Linked DNA regions of Homo sapiens: regions 2 and 3 are each linked to region 1. Evidence: promoter capture Hi-C in 16 types of primary human blood cells and fetal thymus (Javierre and others, 2016). All regions are on one chromosome and are shown on one strand. Each heading gives the region's core, a stretch centred on a gene start or on the middle of the fragment in contact. The rest is flanking DNA. Distances are from core to core; before and after follow the strand shown. Region 1 holds the start of PEMT (phosphatidylethanolamine N-methyltransferase). Region 2 has its middle 47 kb from the start of NT5M. Region 3 has its middle 68 kb from the start of NT5M.

Evidence for each region. Contacts are between HindIII fragments. The CHiCAGO score rates a contact against its expected background, and 5 or more counts as called.
Region 2: a contact is called between a fragment that was not itself captured here and the fragment with the promoter of PEMT in region 1, in 10 of 17 cell types (M0 macrophages, erythroblasts, endothelial precursors and 7 more). The highest score is 11.4, in M0 macrophages.
Region 3: a fragment that was not itself captured here is called in contact with the fragment with the promoter of PEMT in region 1 in 2 of 17 cell types (erythroblasts and M0 macrophages); the score reaches 5.9 in erythroblasts.

What each region holds. Positions count from the first base shown.
Region 1 is chr17:17,589,290-17,593,514 of GRCh38, forward strand. PEMT (phosphatidylethanolamine N-methyltransferase) reads right to left here and starts at 2,419. Exons shown (of 7, transcript NM_148172.3): 1 at 2,242-2,419. The coding sequence starts at 2,337. RefSeq lists enhancers at 1,864-2,605, 2,171-2,560. The HindIII fragment of the contact is 3,820 bases long and covers 1,487-4,225 here.
Region 2 is chr17:17,348,603-17,352,827 of GRCh38, forward strand. No RefSeq gene overlaps it. Among named protein-coding and RNA genes, the nearest start is that of NT5M, 47 kb to the left of the region's middle. RefSeq lists enhancers at 2,829-3,408, 3,673-3,967. The HindIII fragment of the contact is 819 bases long and covers 1,824-2,642 here.
Region 3 is chr17:17,368,838-17,373,062 of GRCh38, forward strand. No RefSeq gene overlaps it. Among named protein-coding and RNA genes, the nearest start is that of NT5M, 68 kb to the left of the region's middle. The HindIII fragment of the contact is 584 bases long and covers 1,726-2,309 here.

The sequences.
Region 1 (4,225 bases), core at 1,169-3,668:
TTAAAAACAAAAGCAAGATTCTGTACCTGCTGAAGCAGGCCCAGAAAAGAGCTGGTGGAGGGCATGGTACCCAGAGCAGCACTGTTTGGTATGACATGGCAGCCACTGGTCACAGGCAGTGCCACAAGCTTGGAATGCCACAGGACAAAATATGTCTGATATATATTTTGGTAACAATAAAATATATTGTCAAAATTATTTTTCTATTTCTTTGCTATTTTCCATTTCTTCTCACTAATTTAACATGGCTACTAGAAAGGTTTAAATTATGCATGTGGCACACGATGTTTCTACTGGACAGCACAGCAGCACAGGGCTAGCACCGGAGATCCTGCAGCTCAGACGCCCATGGGGTGAACAAAAACCTTGCAACTCTCCCAGGCCAGGGACTGACATATTTTAAAACCGGAGATTTTGATTGAGGAGGGAGTAGAGCTACCACATAAGCAAATATGTAATGTTGTATGTTGTATGTTTCTTTCTTTCTTTCTTTAAGAAAAATCCCTTGGCAACAGGAAGCTTAACTGCACCAACAAGGACAGCAGAAGAAAAGCAGAATGTTAGTCAACAAGGGTCACCCTGACCCGAACCCCAGCCCCAGCTCTCTCCAGCTGCACAGCCCTGGGGAGAAAGGAGAAAGAGCAGAGAAGCCCACCCCTCACACACCCGGTTAGTCTCCCCTGCCCACTGGCAGGCCCTGGGGCAGGCCCCTAGATGGGTCTGCAAAGGGACACTGCCCCCTTGCATTCTGCCCCCCCTTCTACATGGCTCCCCCACCCACCCTTCTACACGGTGGCTTCTGAGGGCAGCCCCTGGAGGTGATCATGACCCCCCATCTTGATCTGAGGATTAACAGATACAGGTTCACCTGGTGAAAATGCAGGAGCTGTAGGGGTAGGACCCATCACTCATCTGACTGCATGTTGTAATTCAATGGACAGTTTACTAAAGTAATAGTCTTCTTCCTGTCCTCTGCTGAGCACCCATCTGGCCAACGGTCCTGCGCTCCCTCAGGGCCAGCGGCCCATCTCCTCCTGTGCCTCCTGGAGGGCTTCGCAACTGCCTCCCTCCTCTGGGGAATCTTGCCCCACTGACTGACCTTTCGGCTCTCAGATCCCAGGTCCCTCCCTCGCAGATACGGCAACAGGCTCTCTTGGGATTTCAATCCCGCCTTCCCATCAGCTACTCTTCAAAACACTAACTGGTATTAGCTCCTTCAGAGAACTCTCTGGCTTTCCAGGCCTACAATCTCCCTCCCTAGAATGAAAGCTCAGTGACAGAAGTGCCCTTAAACTTCTGAGTGACACGAGGCCCTCAGCCGGCCCTGAATCAATACTGGCTGGATCAGTGAGTGAATAAATGCACATGTGAGTAAGGAATGAAGGGAGCGAAAGAACTGGATTAGAAGCTGCTTGGGGCAGAGATGTGCCTTACAGGCTTCATGAAGAGTGGGTGATGAAAAAGGTAAATGGAGCATCTAAGAGGAAGCTTTGATAGAAGGGAGAATGCAAGAGAGGTTGGAAATTGGAATCCATTGGAATTGGGAGCCTGGGGAGATGCCAGGACAGGCACTCTCTGGCCTAGGACTCTGCAGAGGGCAGCCTCAGCAGGCAAGCCAGGCCCCCAGCTTCTGGGGCCGGTCGCACCCATTATGGCCCCGAAACGGCTGGGTGGTGGTCTGCAGCCTGCCCAGGGCCGGCTGGGAGACAGGCAGGGTCCCCACCACTCTCTTGCCTCTGGGCAAAAGCTGGCCTCCTGACCCTGGGGGATGGACGGGAGCAGGGGCCACACAACACACTCCCAAACATATAATCGGCCTCCTTCACCCTCGCCCACGCTCAGTCACACACAGCCTCGGTCATACACACTCACACTCACTCTCCGGCACACTCTCAGAGCATCACATAATTTCAGTGAGACACAATCCCAAAGACTAACACGGACAACCTCTGAGTCTCACACAATCTCAGGGCCACACACAGGCACACAATCAGACGAGCTCAGGAACGCCCCCGTCTCTGACACACGCAATCTGAGGTTTACACGCGCGCGCACACGCACACACACAGACACCAGCCGGCGCTCCCGCACGCGGCTCCCCCACCCCCGCCACGCCACGCCCCCATTGCCTGGGAACTGGCGGCCCCGCCCCGCAGCGTTTGAGGCGCCGCAAGCCTTCACGCCCCTCGGGCCTTGCAGATCCCTCTCCCAGTTTCCGCGGCGGTCCGGTGCGGTCAGTACCTGTCTAAAATCAATATTGCCGAGGCCTCCGCAGCAGTCAGGCCCTGCCACCGAGCTGTTCGTTACCTCGGCTCCCGGGTTCCCAGATCTCTTCATCCGGGGGCCGCCTCAGGAGGCACCACGCGGGCCCCGCTGCAGCCACGCGCCCCCGGAACCGGACCTATAGAGCCGGGTAAGTGCCGCCAGTCGGGGCGCTTTCCCGGTGACCCCCAACATATTCCGGCCTTCTGGGAAATGTAGTTCCCCGTCACCGCGAAGTGCCTCTTTATCTGGGGGCTCGCGACAGCGTCTAGAGGAGCCGAGAACTACAAGTCCCAGTGTGTTTCGCCGCAGAGCCTGCCGGTTCCGCTGCAGCTACGTAGCAGTATCCCCTTGGATCCGGCCTCCCGCCCAGTGCCTTTGGTCGCCGGCTGCCGCACCCGAGCCTGTAACTGACCTGGCGTCCCTGCCCTTGCCTGGCGGCGGTGGGGCTAGAGGCCGGGGGCCGCGGGTCGTAGCTATAAGCAGCTTCCCGCGCAGCCTCCTGCGGACTTGGACTTGGCCCGGGTCACACACGCCCAGGGCCCCACACGCCCAGGGCCCCACGCCCTCTTCTGAAATTCGCTTTACTCTGGGGGCGGTGCGCGACGAGCACTGCCTAGAGCTTCCCGCCCCCGCGGCGCCCAGGCTCTTTAGCTCGGCCAAAGACCCCTCCTCCACTCATTTTTTCCTTCATTCATTCTCTCATTCACTCTCGAGTATTTTCTGAACCAGACTGTGCGCTGAGGGTACGGTAGGGAACAACACAGAGTCCCCCGCCCTCGCTTCCTCCTGACTGAGATAAAAGACAAAATGTGAATAAAGGGTTATAATATGGATGAGTACTGTGGTGGAAAAAACGGGGTGGGTCAAATGGTACGGAAGGATGCTGTCTTAGAATGTGCAGGGGAGGTGCCAGATGTGCCAAGTGTGAGGGCAGGGCAAACAAGGCAAGACGAATGGTATGTACAAAGGCCTGGAGACAGGACGGGCACCTAAGGAACAGAGAAAAGACCGGTGAGCTGTGGAGTAGTGATGGAGGGGGTCAAATGGAGAAGAGTTTAGACGATCGGGTCCCAGAAGAACCCCTTTTGTAGGCCGGGTGTGGTGGCTCATGCCTGTAATCCCAGCACTTTGGGAGGCCGAGGTGGGCGGATCACCAGAGGTCGGCAGTTCGAGACCAGCGTGACTAACACGGTGAAACCCCGTCTCTATTAAAAATACAAAAAATAGCCGGGTGTGGTGCGCGCACCTGTAATCCCAGCTACTCAGGAGGCTGAGGCAGGAGAATCGCTTGAACCCAGGAGGTGGAGGTTGCAGTGAGCGGAGATGGTGCCATTGCATGCCAGCCTGCGCGACAGAGCGAGACTCCCTCTCAAAAAAGAAAAAAGCCCTTTTGTAGCCAGGTGTTATGTAATATGGGGAAATAGACTGAGAGGTTCCAAGATTTGCTCAGTCACCCAGACTGCTGGGGGCCCAGACAGGACTTCTGCAGTCAGCTGCTTCCTGCTCCAGATGGCCCGTTTCTCTCCACCTTGGCCCACAGCACCTACCAGTGTTGAGCATTTACTGAGCAGCCACTGTGTGCTGCTTTAGAGGTAGTCCCAATCTTCACAACATCGCTAGGATGGGGCAGGCCAACCGAGGAGACAGGAAAGACACTGGCTTTGGAGCATGCACTATCTCTGTGACTGAGCCCACCTTCATTTTCCTCAAAAGTAAAAGGGAAATACATGTTGGTAAAACTCATCACCCAGGAACTGGCCTGTGGGAAGTGCTCAGTAGGCATTGGCCCCCGGCAGGGCTGGGGACACAGGCTCAGGGCTGGTTCTCTGACTTACCACTGTTACTAATGAGTGTCGGGACCCTTTCCCTGCTCAGTGTCCAGGCAGAGCTGCTAGAGGCAGAGCCATTTCTGAAGGAGCCCCCCGCAGCGGGAGGGCTTCTAGCAAGTCTTTCCCCTCCG
Region 2 (4,225 bases), core at 983-3,482, 240 kb before region 1:
TAGGGAGGGAGGATCCCTCCAGGCTCCGTCACCCACCTTAGGGAGGGAGGACTCCTCCAGGCTCCATCACCCCAGCTTAGGGAGGAAGAACTCTAGGCTTGGCCAAAGGCAGATCTCCACGGCACCCCCACCCCCTTACCCGCTGAACTGACATTTTTCTTTGGGGTGAAGGGGAGAGGCTGAACCAGGAATATATTTGGGGTTGCATCACATGATCTGAAACCATCTGGTCCAGGCAGGGTGGTGGTTGGAAGAGTCCTGGCTGTCTTGCCACATGGCTCTGGAGGGAAGTCTGACCCTGGGGTGCTGGCTGCCCAGCTGCTCCTGAGTCCCTCTGCCTCTTCCTGCTGTCTGAGGTCTCACCTGTGGGGCCCTGAAAGTCCCTCCTCATGAAGGGCCAGGAGAATGTGTGATGTGCAACTCCTTTCTTGTCCCCAGCAGGGCCTGTCCACCTGCTCCACGCCCTGTCCTGAGAGGGACTGCCCCATCAGAAGACTCGAGTCACAGGGACTCTCCTGGGGCCAGCCACACCCTGAAAACATTGTGACTATAGCTTGGGGTGCAGAAAACAACTTGGCTTGTTTCCATCCTGGGGGTCCTTCTGATGACAGAAACTCAATCCTGTCCAGATTTTCTCAGCCACATCCTGGTTTCTCCCTCCCTCCTCCTGCCCAGGGAGAGCCCCGGGCCTGGGGGCTGACTTGGTGCAGGGGTGTGGGTCGGGTTGCTGAGAGCAGTGTTCACGGACCCCGAGGGAGCTGTGGAGGGGCCCTGAGGCCTTCTGTCCACAAAGAGGGGAGCAGGGCCTGGTGGGGTACCACTGGGGGACATTCCCTCCTGCCTCTTACACCAGCCAGGGAATCTTTGTTGAGTCTAGGGCAGGGCAGGGCTGGGCAGTCTCCGTCAGCTCCTAACCAAGCATCCGCAAGAGTAACATGCTCTGAATCCTTCAGGAGACGGACTGTTGCGAAACCTTTTAGACTGATAATTGCCATCAGTTTTAAAGGTCAGTTTAGGAACTCCATGCTCCAAATTGCCACATTTGTTCTCTGCTGTTATCATCACTCACCCCGAGGTGGGCAGCTGCTTCAGCCACATAATTTATTTAAAGAAAAAAAAATAATTGCAGGGGCAAAAATGTTTCAGAACATGACCCCACCCGACGGTCTCAAAGCAACTTGCTGTGACGTTAACAAGCACTTCGAGGGGTGCCTGGGGCTGCCGAGGCACTGTGGAGCAGCAGGAGGAGGCCCCGGGGGCCTCAGGTCCCAGCACGGTCTCCTATGTGGAAGAAGGGGCCAGCCCCTGGCTGAGACGCCCTGCAGAGACCCAGGGCTGGGGGGAGCTTGCTGAGGTGGAAATGGGAAGCAGGCGTTGATGAGTGAGGTGCCGTCTGCACCTGGATGCTCAGCCGGCTGCTGCCGTCCCCATTGCACTGACCTTGGCTGAGACCCCAAATTCATGATCGTGTCAACAGTCTCCTGATTGAGGCCAGGCGCAGTGGCTCACGCCTGTAATCCCAAAACTTTAGGAGGCTGAGGCAGATGAATCAGTTGAGGCCAGGAGTTCGAGAGCAGCCTGGCCAACATGGTGAAACCCTGTCTCTACTAAAAATACAAAAATTAGCTGGGCGTGGTGGCGGGCGCCTGTAATCCCAGCTACTCGAGAGGCTGAGGCAGGAGAATCGCTTGAACCCGGGAGGCAGAGGTTGCAGTGAGCCAAGATCGCGCCACTGCACTCTAGCTTGGGTGGCAGAGAAAATTCCATCTCAACAACAAAAAAATTCTGATTGAAATGAAGGTCACTTTCTTGAAAGCTTGGGAAGCTTGTGTTTTGCCTCAGAACCAGTTTTTGAACCCCAGAAAAGAAGATCCACCCCCGTTAGGAGAGCTAGGCCTGGTTCTGCCCCATGGCACATCAGCTCTATCCCTCCCTTATCCACCAGGCTGGCCTCTCAGTGACTCAGCTCTCGGTGAAAGTTGTGATTCATTTGAAAATATTGGAAAGATTCAGAGCTCTAGGACCAGAGCCCCTGGAAGGGGTGACATCCCCCAGGTGGAGAGGGCGCTGGGAAAGCAGGTTTGTGGAGCATGTAGGAATCGTGGCCGCACGCTCAGGTATGTGGGGAATGTGCCCCTGTTTCTCTGTCCTGCCAGAGGGTGGAGGAATCTGACTCCCCTACCTGCTCTTCAGCAGCGGGGCCTCCAGCAGGGGGGCCTCTAGCAGAGGGGCCTTGTCATTGTCCCCATGCTGCTCCCCCTTGGCCCTTCATCCCTGTCTGTGCAGGGTGTCCATCTGTCCTCGGTGAGGGGCCACTGCTGCCTGGCCTCGCCCCCACCCTGGGGACCCTGCTGAGGATGGGAACACTGCTCCTGGCCCTCAGACCTCTCTGGGGTTTGTGGTTCCCCGAGCCTGGGGTTCTGACCAGGGGTGGGCTGACCACAGGTCACCTTCTGAGGGACCCCTGGTATCTCCTGCATGGACTCCTCGAGTGCCTGAGCCCAGGGGGAGAGCAGCCTGGGCCTGTCCAGGGCTCACTGGCCCAGGTTCCCCACCCTAGGCCAGCTCTTCTTGACACATGTAGGCTGTGAGTCCTCACCCCGTGGGGTCGTCAGGCCAGATGAGGCCATGCATGTGAGGAAAGCTTCTGATCCTTCTCCAGTCCACGGCAGTGCCATTCCCACCTGTGGGGGGGAGGAGGCAGGCTCGGGAGGTGCAGTTACGTTCCCGAGGCCATGCGGCGTTCGACCTGGGTCAGCCTTGCTCAGTGTTTCTCAGGAGGCCCTCCTTTTGTCCACGTGGCCTTTTCCTCAGACGTTTTTGTGAAGGACGATGTGGCAGAGCCCTTCTGGCTGGGCCCTCTACCCGTCTCCACCCCAGAGGGCCCAGGGACTGCGCAAGCTGCTGATGGGGACCCCCACACTGAGCGGGGTGTCCCATGCCTAGGAAGGACAGATTCCTTGGCCAGCGTTGCTGAGCCTCTGTCCTGTCACTCACCCCCTTCCAGGCTCCGAGGGATGTGAGGACTTCAGACCACACACTTCCCAGGGCACATGTGTCGCTGGGGATCCCTCATCAGTCCATTTGCACCTGTGCTGTGGGGAGCCGGTCTCTGCTGCACTTGGGCAGCCCGCCCCGGCGGAGGGCAACCCCTTAATGAGCCTTAGCAGGTGGCATGTGGGCCAGCGTGTCCCAGCACGAGACGTTCTTGTGCTGGGTCCCTTCAGCTTTAGCCTCAGTGGGCAATTGGCCCAAGTCCCTGGCTGCTTCCCCACTGCAGCCCCTACCCAGCTTGGGTGGGGTCCTCACTGCCCACCCCGCCCCCCGCCACCTTGGCCCCCTTCCAGGTTCCAGACTTCCACTTGCGTGTGTCAGAAACGCAGCTCAAACCCACCCATGTGCACGTGCGCAAAGCTCGTTGGCCTGGGAGGCCCAGGGCACGCTCACCCCCAGGGGGTCACACAGTCTGACCAGGCTTTCGCGTCCTTCCTGCTCTCTCACTGCACTGTCCGCTTCTGCTTCCCAGCCTGTGGACGCTCCCTGGAGGGCAGAGCAGCTGGCACACCATGCCCATGCTCTGAGCGAGCAGCTGAGCTCTGGCCCACAGTGGTTGCAGATGATGTCGTAGAAAGGGCCCAGAAATAGCGAGGGGTGGTGGTGGCGGCAAACCTGGCAGCAGAGCCTGTGACAAGTGCAGTGACGCCTCACAGCGGGCTCAGGGGGTGGGTGGCCTGGTCTGAAGTCACCATAAGCAGAACAGGCTTCGCACCAGGACATCCGGGTCAATAACAGCCGGCCCCAGGCTGGCGATGACTCATGTTGGAGGGGCTATGGCCAGTGCCGTGGAGGACAGGCGTGGGAGCAGTCTCACCAGATTAAGTTTACTTCCAGCATTTGGGTCTAAACCCTCCAATGAACAGATGGGCTGGGGATGTGGCCTGTTTGCCGCAGGCGACAGAGGCTGCTGTGTGGCGAGTACTGCGGCAGGGCCTGCTCTGCGTCCCGTGCACCCTGGGGTGGCACTAATGGCACTTTTCAGCCCTCGGGTTCCATCACGTGGTCTTCTTACATGGGCTGCTGGGTGGTCACGGGGCGGGGGGTCACATGACTCTGTAAAATGTGTCCTCATTCACGAGGGGCCCAAATGCTGGGGAGGGAGGGAGGCCTGGGGCAGCCCAGCCAGGCAGGGAAGCTCGGCGGCAGGAGCCGCAGCCCAGGGCAGAGG
Region 3 (4,225 bases), core at 768-3,267, 220 kb before region 1:
CGGGTGCCTGTAGTCCCAGCTACTCCGGAGGCTGAGGCAGGAGAATGGCATGAACCCGGGAGGTGGAGCTTGCAGTGAGCCGAGATCACGCCACTGCACTCCAGCCTGGGCGACAGAGCGGGACTCCGTCTCAAAAAAAAAAAAAAATGCTTATGGTGAAAAACAAGAAAGATCTCAAATCAACAACCTAACTTTACAACTTAAGGAACTAGAAAACAAAAACAAAAACAAAACAGAATAAGCCCAAATAGCAGAAGAGAGGAAATAATTAAGATTAGAGCAGAGATAAATAATATAGAGAATAGAAAAACAATAGAGAAAATCAATGAAACAAAAGTTGATTCTTTTAAAAGACCAACAAAAATTGACAAAACTAACAAGAATGACTAAGAAAAAAAAGAGAAAAAACTTAAATTATCAAAATCAGAAATTAAAGTAGGGACATTACTACTGATTTTACAGGAATAAAAAGGATTATAAGAAAACGCTATGAACACTTGTATGCCAACAAATTGGATAACCTAGATGAAATGGAGAAATTCTTAGAAATACACAAACTATCAAAACTAAATCACAAAGAAATAGAAACTCCAAATAGACCCCTCACTAGGAAGGAAATTGGCTCAGTAATCAGAAACCTCCCAACAAAGAGAAGTCCTGGATTGATGGTTTCACTGATGAATTCTGCCAGAGATTTAAAGAACTACTCACACCTGTAATCCTAGCACTTTGGGAGGCTGAGGCAGGAGGATTGCTTGAGCCCAGGAATTTGAGACCAGCCTTGTCAATATAGTGAGACCTCATCTCTACAAAAAGTTTAGAAAAAAAATATCTGGGTATGGTGGTAAGTGCCTGTAGTCCCAGCTTTTTGGGATCTTGAGGTGGGAGGATTGCCTGAGCCCAGGGGTTAGAGGCTGCAGTGAGCTATGATTGTGCCACTGCATTCCAGCCTGGACAACAGAGCAATACCCTGTCTCTCTCTCTGTCTCTCTCTCTCTCTTTTAATTGTTTTATTAGATCCTGACCAGCTCACAGAGGGAGGACTCTCACCCACATTTTACACACAAGGAGACAAACTCAGAGGCAGAGCCAAGTCTGCATGTCCAGGCTCTCTGAGGGCCACGCCGTGCCAGCCCCCTTCCACCCTGGTCCCTGGCCTTCGTGTGGTGAATTCTGTGTTATGAATGGGGCCCTCTAAGATTCTTCCCACATGAGAAATTCTGTGACTCCAAGAATCAATATTTGAATTTCTGAAGCTCAACTGAAACCCAAACGCCAGTGAATCATGACTAACTTTTTTTTTTTTGAGACAGAGTGTCACTCTGTCGCCCAAGCTGGAGTGCAGTGGCTGGCTCACTGCAACCTCCACCTCCCGGGTTCAAGCAATTTTCGTGCCTCAGCCACCCAAGTAGCTGGGATGACAGGTGTGTGTGCCACCACACCCAGCTAATTTTTGTATTTTTAGTAGAGATGGGGTTTCACCATGTTGGCCAGGCTGGCCTTGAATACCTGACCTCAAGTGATCCACCCACCTCGGCCTCCCAAAGTGCTGGGATTACAGGCATGAGCCACTGTGCCTGGCCCCTTTTTTTTTTTTTTTAAAGTAAAGAAAATAGATCAATCAGACCACAACTGAATACACAATTTCCTAAATCCACAAAACCCGAGCCTCACAATACTTTTTAACCAGGGCCTGAGTGAGGGTTAGAACATCATGTAATTTTAAGCTTTGCTTAAAATCTCCCAGGAAAAATGGCTTAGATGGCATGGCTCAGACTTCTCCTGTATATGCACCTAGAAATACTGAATCGTTCCACCTGGAGGTCTTGCAGGCCCCTCCATCTCTATGGGGCCAACGTGGAACTTGCCTCTTCTTTCGTCTGGTCAACACCAGTCATGATTTTTGGCTGGCTGGCATTTTTGAACCCCTTTGTATGTCTGGGGAATCTCCCTCATGCTGGGCCAGAAATGTGCTTCCCAGGGCCCCTTGCACCTAGACGTGCACACGGGAGCTGGTAGGCAGGACAGTCACTGGCCCTGCATGAGGATCTGTAGACACCATGTGAGCCGCCCTGGCCAGGTGGCTGCTGAGACGCCAAGGGTCCAGTGGCAACCACAGCATCTGGCCCCAGTGCTGGTGGTATGCTCTTCTGGGCTGGGATTTGCATGGACCTCTGGCTGCAGGCCTGCCCTCCGGGCCATTTGAAGACCCTGTGAGCTGACTCTATCCTTCATTAATCCTTCACATGCCTAAACTGCCTGGCATGGGTTGCAAGGAGGAACCTTGACTGATACCTGCCTCCTCCCCAAGCTTACTCCTCCTCTGTTTCCATCGGAAACATCCCTCCCCTTGCCCAAGTGTGAAGCCCAGCAGTCACCCTGTCTCCTCTCTCCCTCCCCAGTTCCAATCCCCCAGTCTTACTGACAACTCTGCTTCCTACCTCTACAGCTCTGGAAGTGTCAGAGACGTTTGAACCAAAGCAACTCCATCTTGAATAGGAGCTGGGTAAAATGAGGCTGAAACCTACCGTGCTGCATTCCCAGACAGTTCAGGCATTCTAAGTCACCCTTTGTGTGTCTGAGGAATCTCCCTCATACTGGGCCAGAAACGTACTTCCCAGGGCCCCTTGCATCTAGATGTGCACATGGGAGCTGGTGGGGAGGACAGTCACCAGCTTATCATCACAGGATAAGATAGGAGGTCAGCATGAAATATAGGTCATAAATACCTTGCTGATAAAACAGGTTGCAGTAAAGGAGCCGGCCAAAACCCACCAAAACCAAAATGGCGACAAGAGTGACCTCTGGTCATTCAATGTTTGGGAGCCTTGCACACTCGCCTGGCTCCCCACGTGGCAATCATTCTGTCTGCCTTCAGGCTCCTGCACAAGCTGATGCTTCTACCTGGAGTTTTACTCCACTCTCTCCCTCCTTCCACCCCTACTTGGCCTTGGCTCTCAGCTTCTGGGAAAAGTCATTTCCAAACCTCCCCTCAGAGTAGTCATCTCTCCACAGCCCTCTGTGTTTCTGGGGGCTGTTAGGCATGGTGGCTGCCTGCTCATTCTTTGACACTTTCTTTAACACTTAGGAGCTCTGCAGCCCTGGGCAAGTTACTGAATCTCTCTGGGCCATCTTTATGTCTTCATTTATAAAATAAGGTTTGTGAAAGGAGAATAAATCTCAGGATCCCCAAATCACTAAGCCAAAGGGAAAAGTCAAGCTGGGAACTGTGTCAGGCAAACCTGCCTCCATTCTATTCCTAAATAAGATGGCTACAAAGATTGAAAAAAAAAAAGCCTACATGCCACATTTTCTTTCTTTCTTTTTTTGAGACGGAGTCCCGCTCTGTCGCCCAGGCTGGAGTGTAGAGGCGCGATCTCGGCTCACTGCAACCTCCGCCTCCAGTTCAAGTGATTCTCCTGCCTCAGCCTCCCGAGTAGCTGGGACTACAGGCGCCCGCCACCACGCCCAGCTAATTTTTGTATTTTTAGTAGAGACAGGGTTTCACCATGTTGGCCAAGATGGTCTCAATCTCCTGACCTTGTGATCTGCCCACCTTGGCCTCCCAAAGTGCTGGGATTACAGGCATGAGCCACTGGGCCCAGCCCACTTTCTTTATCCTAATGAATAGCTAATAGATGCTGGTCTTAATACCTGAGTGATGGGTTGATCTCTGCAGCAAACCACCATGGCACACGTTTACCTATGTAACAAACCTGCACATCCTGCACATGTACCCCAGAACTTAAAATAAAAGTTGAAGAAAAAAAAGCTACATACCTCCCTCACAACTTGCCCACAAGGAAATTCCTTGGATGAGGGACGGACAGAGCTCAAAGCCATCCTTCTGCCCACCGGAGACAAATGCACCTCTGATCGCCTCCTTTGCCCTGTTGTTTCACTGAGCCAGACTAAGGTATCAGTGACTATTCCTCTACCCTCCTCTCACAGGTAAATTGTGTATTCAGTGAAAGGCTAATCAGAGACCCCAAAGAATGCAACTGTTTGTCTCTTATCTACCTATGATCTGGAAGTCCCTCCCCGGCCTCGAGTTGTCCCTGCTTTCAGGACCGAACCAATGTACATCTTACACATACTGACTGACGTCTTCTCTCTCCCTGAAATGTATGAAACCAAGAGTGCCCTGACCACCTTGTTGTCAGAACCTCCTGAGGCTGTGTCACGGATGCGTGATCATAGCACCATCTTAGCTCCTTAACCTTAG